Regions from separate parts of the Homo sapiens genome. Here regions 1 and 2 are each linked to region 3. The links are contacts of gene promoters, found by promoter capture Hi-C in human tissues and cell types (Jung and others, 2019). All regions are on one chromosome and are shown on one strand. The core of a region is centred on a gene start or on the middle of the fragment in contact, and the rest is flanking DNA. Distances in the headings are between cores, read along the strand shown.

Region 1 (2,700 bases), core at 21-2,520, 1.7 Mb before region 3:
TCAAAGGAAAATAAGACTTCTTGGTTCTGGCAGATACTGTCTCTGGCAGAATTGGTCTCACTGTTTTCCTTGGGGAGCATTTTAGGTAGTATGTTGAAAGACAGATATACATCAGTTGAAGACAGGATCAGATGCTATCTGGTTAATAAAGCTTATGATCAGGGAAGGGGCAAAGAAGACAGATACCACTACCATTTTGTTCTTTCTGGTTTTACTAATATGACCATAATGAGTCATTTTTTATGCATATAGGCTATGTGTTTCAGGTTGCCTTTCCTTTTCCTCCTACAGATCTATTGAGCTTTGTGTTCTAAACAAGATAGTGTGCTTATCTGAATGTTTCCCATCTGTCTTTGATGAAAAAGCTCCCAGTTAAACTAATTTGGATTTATTTATTTTTCCTGTCTATTCCAGTTCTCTGCTATGTGTGGGCAAGTGCCTGTTTTATCTTGAGGGGTAGATTTTAGCATTTGAACTCTCTCCCTTTTTAAAATCACCTTGTTACTTACAGATCATCTCAGTCCAGTAACTTTTCTTTATAAAGGTTAAAAGATTGTTTGCTTTCTTCTCAGGTAGTCTCAGTGTTCTCAGCCTTGAGAGGGAAAGGGACATACTTAATATTTTCTTGTCTTGCTTGCTAAGAGCTGTTTTTCCTTCGTCATGTGTTGGGCAGGGCTAGCCACCCATCTGTTGGACCAGCTACTTCATAAAACTTTCAAAGGATGATAGTAGGTGAAATGAAATTGACAAGAGTGTTGGATGCAGGTAGAATGAAGGGTCTGCTGTAGCGTGTATGTGGACTTCTTTCTTTTGTTTATGTTCGTAAAAGTGGAGAGACTCTGGATATAGAAAGGGTAATAGCAAACTGATATCTCCAGTACCTGTCTCCTATATGATCAAAAACATTAACAATGTGTTGGTTTTGTAAAATTGCTACTGTTTTGTTCTGAAGTGCTGTAGCCATTAGCTGGATTGTAACAGTAATATGACAGCTGTATAGTAAAATACTGTCTCTCTTTATGATAGGAAATGAAAAAGCATCTGTTATGAAGCCTCAGTGAACTAAAAGCCATTCTCTGAAAAGTCAAGACTTTTGGGCTTTATCAGTAGATAAACATGAGCCATAGGTTTTCTAGCAATAGAATATTTTAACCTATATGAATATATGCTTTATAGGTGAGACTGCTATTTAATGAGAGTTTTAAAGTAACTAAACCTTGTTGACAGAATTCAGGATGGAAAGTTTTACCCTAAATAAAACTTCAGGATATTGAATATGATAGCAAAGTTCCAGGGTATGTTTTATATTTATGAACAATTTTCATTTGAATATTTGGAGCTTGGGGGTTTTGGTGAGACATGTTCATGTATGTTATATACAAACTTTCAGGCCTGGCATGGTGGCTCACACCTGTAATCCCAACACTTCAGGAGGCTGAGGCAGGAGGATCGCTTAAGCCCAAGAGTTCAAGACCCATCTCTACAAAAAATTAAAAAAAAAAAAAAAAAAAAAAAGCCAGGTATGATGGTGCCCACCTGTAGTCAGAGCTACTTGGGAAGCTGAGGTGGGAGGATCGATTGAGCCCAGGAGGTCGAGGCTGCAACAAGCTATGATCATGCCATTCTACTCCAACTGGGGCGACAGAGCAAGATTCTGTCTCAAAAAATAAAACTTTCATCCTCCTCACTGCTGGTGGTCTCTTACTGGTCCTTTGGAACCAGCCAGATGTATATGTCTTCCTAATTAGATTATTAGCTTCTCAAGGGCAATATATTAATCTATATATTGGCTTCTGATACTGGCACATGGTACTTAGTATTTTTGAATGAATGAGAGTGATGAAATTTGGATTGTCATACTTTCCCTGATAAGTATAAGCTTTTAAATCAAGATTTTATCGAAGTATTTTGAGATCTGTTCTTATATTAAGAAATGAATCTTCTACCCACCATCCTGTATTTTAGCCAATCCTTGTCCAAAGCAGATGTTGTTGAAAAATAGCTTTCAAAGTTGGAATTCTTCTGCATCTCAGAATGTGCAGTATGTCATGTCTGCCTGTGATGTTTATTGCTGAATCTAAGTGTTCTAATCAAACCACAGTTAGAGCTTTTCTCACTACTATGGAAACATATCTGAATCATTTTGTTTAGATAATTAATGATCTAAGATGGACATTATGGGGCCGGGCGCGGTGGCGCACGCCTGTAATCCCAGCACTTTAGGAAGCCGAGGCAGGTGGATCATTTGAGGTCAGGAGTTCAAGACAAGCCTGGCCAACATGGTGAAACCCCATCTCTACTAAAAATACAGAAATTAGCCAGGTGTGGTGGTGCATGTCTGTAGTCCCAGCTACTTGGGGGGCTGAGGCAGGAGAATTGCTTGAACCTGGGAGGCAGAGGCTGCAGTGAGCTGAGATTGTGCCACTGCACTCCAGCCTGGGCGACAGAGCGAGACCCTGCCTCAAAACAAAAACAAAAACAACAAAACAAATAAGATGGACATTATGGAATTTCAGAAGCTAAGTCTTAGGGAATATTGGGGCATGGTACTGACTCTGGTGTGTTTTAGAATGGAGAAATGCTAGGACTTGGCTCTTGACAGCTAATGTGTAAGGCTTTGACTAGACAGGCCCTAAGGTGTATCCATCTAGTGCAGTCCTCTTAGTTATAACAACAGCAGGACAGAATTCACTTGTAGAG
Region 2 (2,700 bases), core at 52-2,551, 1.3 Mb before region 3:
TTAATAAATCAACACCTTTAGGAAAAAAATTCAATGTAACTGTACTATTCACAAGAGGATTAATAAACATGTTCCCTTGTCATAAACCACAGATAGTGTTACCTGGTAAGAAGTTTAAAGGTATAATCAGTATCATCTTTCAATCCTGTGACTTTATCTCGACTGTTTACACCTACTATGTGCAAACCATTCTAGTGGGTGCCATGACAAAACAAAGTAGCATAAACTCATTTTGAGCTCAAGGTATCCAAGATGAGAACCCATGACGACTTCTTACTCTGTTGAGATACTACAAGGAACTTCCAATGAATATAGTCTACCTGTGCCCATGGGAGGAATCTGGTGGCCTTGCCCCATCAAATCTGCTACCATCTCTATTCAAGCAACTTCCATTTTTCTTTCTCCGCTGGGTGCTTCCTGTATATCTTTTAATAGATTATAGATTTTTCTTTCTTTTTTTTTTTTTTTTTGAGACAGGGTGTCACTCTGTCTCTCAGGCTGGAGTGTAGTGATGCAATCCTAGCTCACCGCAGCCTCCAACTCCTGGGCTCATGCAATCCTCCTGCCTCAGCCTTTTGAGTAGCTAGGACTACAGGCATGTGCCATCATGCTCAGTTGATGTTTAAAACATTTTTTGTAGAGATGGGGGTCTCACTATGTTGCTCAAGCTGGTCTCGAACTCCTGGCCTCAAGTGATCCTCTTACTCTGGCTTCCCAAAGTGCTGGGATTACAGGCATGAGCCACTGCACCCAGCCTGATTTTCTATCTTACTTAAAGGTGTTGCCTTCTCAACCTCGTCCTGCTTCCATTTTTCTCTGTCCTTTCTCTTCCAAACATCTTAAACTAAACTGCATTCATTACTACCATTCTCCCTATCATCACTTAGCTCCTTAGCCCTTTGTTATGTAGATCAAATACATACACAGAACTTGCAGAAATCGGCATTACCGTAAGTCAATTAACATCTTGTGAGTGTAATCAGCACTACCAGAGCATAATCACTTCTTCCCATTTGAAAAATATCAAGCTCTGAATATGCAAAGCTGAGAAACATTAGTTTAGCCAACAAGGTATGGACATCCTGCAACTGAAAGCAACTTAGCGGAAATAGAATGGAAGATGGCTAGAGATGGGGTGGATGGGGAAAGGAGACACTACTTAAGAGTAACAGGGAGAGAAAAATGGATAGGAGGAGACAGAAAAGGAAAGAGACATTGAAAACAAATAGGAGTAAATGAAGGAAAATGGGCTACATTTTTATCCAATTAATCTCCCTTTTTCAAATCTGGTTGAGAATTAAATTAGATTAATGTTAGCTCAGTGAACCACTTGGAGACTTGGAGATATGTAAAGACCTTCAAGCTGTAGGAACTGTCTTTCCCAGAACATATACCAGAGGCCCTTCTGGGTAGTCCTCTTTTCTGATTTCCTCTCTTTCACTGGTTCAGTGTCTGATCCATTTGAGATGGTATCAGCACTCACCTCAGGTGATCTAGAAGTCACTTCCTTTACACTCTCTGCTCCTACAGATAAGCTTAAATGAGTCACCACTTTCTAATTCCACCTAACATCATTTGCATGGTTATAGGTACACCACTGAAGCAAGTATATTAACTAGAAGTGACAAGTGCCGTTGTGGTTTATGATTATCTTCTCTGAATGGTACTCTATGCCTTTATGAATTCAAACATACAGATTCAGATCATTATTCTAAGGTCATTTCCTGTCCTAAACTGCAGTGGAGTAAGAGGCTGAGTCTGACATATCATGGTTCAACTGTAAGTCAGCTATTAGCCCTGTACCCTAATGCCAGCCTTGTAAAGCATACCGCTGTGCCGGTCATCTTCTCCACATACTAAAAACGCTCCCCCATGCCTCTACACAGGCTGTTCTCTCTGCCGGAAATGCCCTTTTCCTCCACAACTTAGTGTGAGTGTCACCTTCCCTGGGAAGGCTTTCTCAACCTCCCCATCGTGTTGATGACCTTCCTTTTCATCCCCGCAGCACCTCTTGTACTGTCTATTACAGCACTTATTACACTAAATGGCACTCATCTGTGTCCACATCTGTCTCACCCACCTGGCTGTGCATTCCTTGGGAACAAAGATCTCCTTTCGCCCCACCTCTGTAGTCCTGGCTCCTAGCACAGCATTCAGCATGTCTATGCATTCAAATGTTTAGTGAGAGCGTCATCATGTCAAGCCCAAGCATAATTTCTTTTCTTTTTTTGGAGACGGAGTCTTGTTCTGTCACCCAGGCTGGAGCTTAATGGTGCAATCTCAGCTCACTGCAACCTCTGCCTCCCGGGCTCAAGCAACCTTCCTGTATCAGCCTCCCGAGTAGCTGGGACTACTGGCGCGCACTACTACAACCAGCTAATTTTTTTTTTTTTTGTAGAGATGGGTTTCACCATGTCACCCAGGCTGGTCTCGAACTCCTGGACTCAAGTGACCTGCCTGCCTTGGCCTCCCAAAGTGCTGGCATTACATGCATGAGCCACCAAGCTTTGCCTAAAATGAGGTTTTTTAGAAATTCTATTTTAAATTCTCTTTCTTAACTTCATTTGAAAAAATATTTATTGAGGACCTACTATGTGCAACTCACAGTGCTAGATGTTGGTGACACAAATGTGAATAAAACAGAGTATTTTTATTCATGTAGCTATTTTCCAGAAGGGGAAATATAATATACAAATTAAA
Region 3 (2,700 bases), core at 31-2,530:
AGTGAGGTTTTCTTGCTGTCTTCTGTTCCTGGGTGGGATCACAGAACTGTTTGAGCCACATTACTGGTCTGGGTGGTGTCAGCTGATCCATCGAGCGCAGGGTCTGCAAAATATCTCAAGCGCTGATCTTAGGTTTTACAATAGTGATGTTATCCCCAGGAGCAATTTGGGAAGGTTCAGACTCTTGCAGCCAGAGGCTGCTGTGTGACCCCTAAACCATAATTTCTAATGTTGTAGCTAATTTGTTAGTCCTACAAAGGCAGACTGGTCCCAAGGCAGGAAGGGAGCCTTTTTGGGAAAGGGCTATTGTCAATTTTGTTTCAGAGTAAAACTATAAACTAAATTCCTTCCCAAGGTTCGTTCAGCCTATGCCTAGGAATGAACAAAGACAGCTTAAAGGCTAGAAAGGCAAGATGGAGTGGGTTAGGTCTGATCTCTTTCACTGTCATAATTTCCTCAGTTATAATTTTGGCAAAGACAGCTTCAATGCTAGTAAATGTGGCAGTGGGGTTTCACCCCAAGTACTCATCACAATAATAAAGGTTTAAACTACGAAGTACCCAACTGACCCTTTGATCTACCAATCAAATAATAGAATCCGCCAGTTCTTCCCCTTTCCCCTTTTCCTTCTCCGTACTTTCGGATTAATTTTCCCTCCCAAGGGGAAGAAAAGGCAGGCTCTGGGCAACTGTGTCTGAAATTAGGTGGTACAAATGTCTCCTAGTGACTAGAGCTAGGTGACCATACAAGGGTGTGGCACAGAGGAAGGAGCCCCTGGGTTCCTTCTCCAGGGAGATTACCTCCATCCTTTACCAAGTTACTTAACCTCTCTGAACTTTAGTTCAGATGGGATGACGAATATTATCACCTAAAAGTACTGTAATGAGAATCAAGTGAGATATTAATTGTACAGCCCTACAAAAATGCTAGTTATTATCAGGCTTTTCAGATCCCAATAAAGTAGTGGCTAAGTGTCACGACACCAACAAGTTGCATTTGTTATTTCAAGTGACTAAAAGAACCTCCCAAGGCAGTACTGCTTTTCGAAGTTTGTTTCCCTAGAAAAAGAACTTCAATGTGTCCCCTGCTCCTCGGGCACGCTTAAGACAACTATAAGTGAAGTCCCGCCTCCCTGGCCTCTAAACCACGCCCCTGTCCTTGCAAACGCCTGACTTATAAGGGCCTTTCACTCTGATTGATACTTTTATCCACCAATAATAAGTGAAATTCTCGTCAACGTCCGGTGAGGGGGCAGGACTTCCTTGCTGGTTGCTAAGACACTCTTGTTTCGCTCCTTGACAACCCTGGCGGGGGTTCGCTGGCTGCGGCCCCGGCTCCGGCCCCCGCAGGAGCAGGTGAGGCCCCGGGGCGCGGCGGGCAGCCAGGCGGGGAGGGCCGGCCCGGAGGGAGGGCGGGAGGCAACGCAGGGCGGAAGAGGCCTCGCCCGCCGCCGAGGCCCCACCTCGGTCTCCTGCCTGCTGTTCCCCTGCCCCAGGTCTTCCCATCCTCAACCCCCACCCTCACCCCCACTTCGGGACCTGCGAGCTCTGTCGTGACAGGTTTGCCATCGCGACTCTGCCGGCTGCTCTTCCCCACCCACCCAAGGCCTGCCCAGCTTCGTGGTCCCGCGTCCCCCTTTAGCCGACTTCCCCCAGCACCTTGATCCCTCGACCTTTCGCGGAGTAATTCCCTCTCCCGCGGGGTCGCCATCAACTAGGTCAGACCGCTCTTGGCTTGGAGAGTTGGCGACTTACTGGGATTCTGGGCTGGTCATTTCCCCTGTTTGGGCCTCAGTTTCCCCATCTGTAAATGAGAAGTTGAGTTGAGTGATCTCTAAGGCCTCTTCCACTCTGACGTTCTAGGATGTCGTTGTTCTTTGACCCAACTTTAGGCTTCCGAGAGGATGTGCTCCCCAATGGGAGGTATCGTGTATTGTGAAAATAACTTGGCAAACCTAATTTGGATTCCCAGTCTCAAGACCTACCCTCCCTGCGCTTTTAATCAGTGCATATGTAAAATCAGTATACGTCGGTGCATCTCCTTTGGTAATTCTGAGGCTAATATGAAGTACAGAGTCCAGTCCAGTATAGATTCAGTATTTGTTAGTTTCTTTCCTTTGTCTCTTCACCACATTTTCCCTCTCTGGGAAATGTTATCAACCCGGTCAGCATGAACTGTCATTTCTCCAGTTGACCCTCTCTGATCTTCCTCCTGGGCTTCCATGGTTAGGGTTACTTAGGGGTGGGGAGGGGACAGATGGAGATTGAAATACAGTCATGTACCATATAACAACGTTTTGGTCAAGAAAGACCACAGATACCACGGTGGTGCCCTAAGGTTATAATGGAGCTGACAAATTTCTATCACCTAGTTACATAGCTATCGTAATGTCAAAGCAAAATGCATGACTCACGTGTGTGGTGATGCTGGTGTAAGCAAACCTACAGTGCTGCCAGTCATATAAAATATAGCACATACAATTGTGTACAGGACATCATACTTGATAATGGTAATAAATGACTGTTACTTGTTTATGTGTTTACTATCCTACACTTTTATTGTTATTTTACAGTGTACACTCCTCCTACTTATAAGAAAATAAAATTTAACCGTAAACAGTCTTAGATAGGTCCTTCAGGAGGTATTCAAGCAAAAGGCTTTGTTATCATAGGAGATGACAGCTCCATGCGTGTTATTGCC

The links. The method cuts DNA at HindIII sites, captures the fragments that hold promoters and counts their contacts. A contact is called where the count stands out against the background at its distance.
Region 1: a contact is called between a fragment that was not itself captured here and the fragment with the promoter of DNAL4 in region 3, in 1 of the 25 tissues and cell types used here (aorta).
Region 2: a fragment that was not itself captured here is called in contact with the fragment with the promoter of DNAL4 in region 3 in 1 of the 25 tissues and cell types used here (spleen).

Annotation. Positions count from the first base shown.
Region 1 is chr22:40,530,078-40,532,777 of GRCh38, reverse strand. All of the region lies in intron 3 of MRTFA (myocardin related transcription factor A), which reads left to right. Among named protein-coding and RNA genes, the nearest start is that of MRTFA-AS1, 9.6 kb to the right of the region's middle. The HindIII fragment of the contact is 3,323 bases long and covers 1-2,700 here.
Region 2 is chr22:40,054,568-40,057,267 of GRCh38, reverse strand. It overlaps a transcript of TNRC6B not described here. Among named protein-coding and RNA genes, the nearest start is that of TNRC6B-DT, 11 kb to the right of the region's middle. The HindIII fragment of the contact is 4,520 bases long and covers 1-2,700 here.
Region 3 is chr22:38,792,723-38,795,422 of GRCh38, reverse strand. It overlaps DNAL4 (dynein axonemal light chain 4), which reads left to right and starts at 1,280. Exons shown (of 4, transcript NM_005740.3): 1 at 1,280-1,355. RefSeq lists a silencer at 1,089-1,538. The HindIII fragment of the contact is 13,707 bases long and covers 1-2,700 here.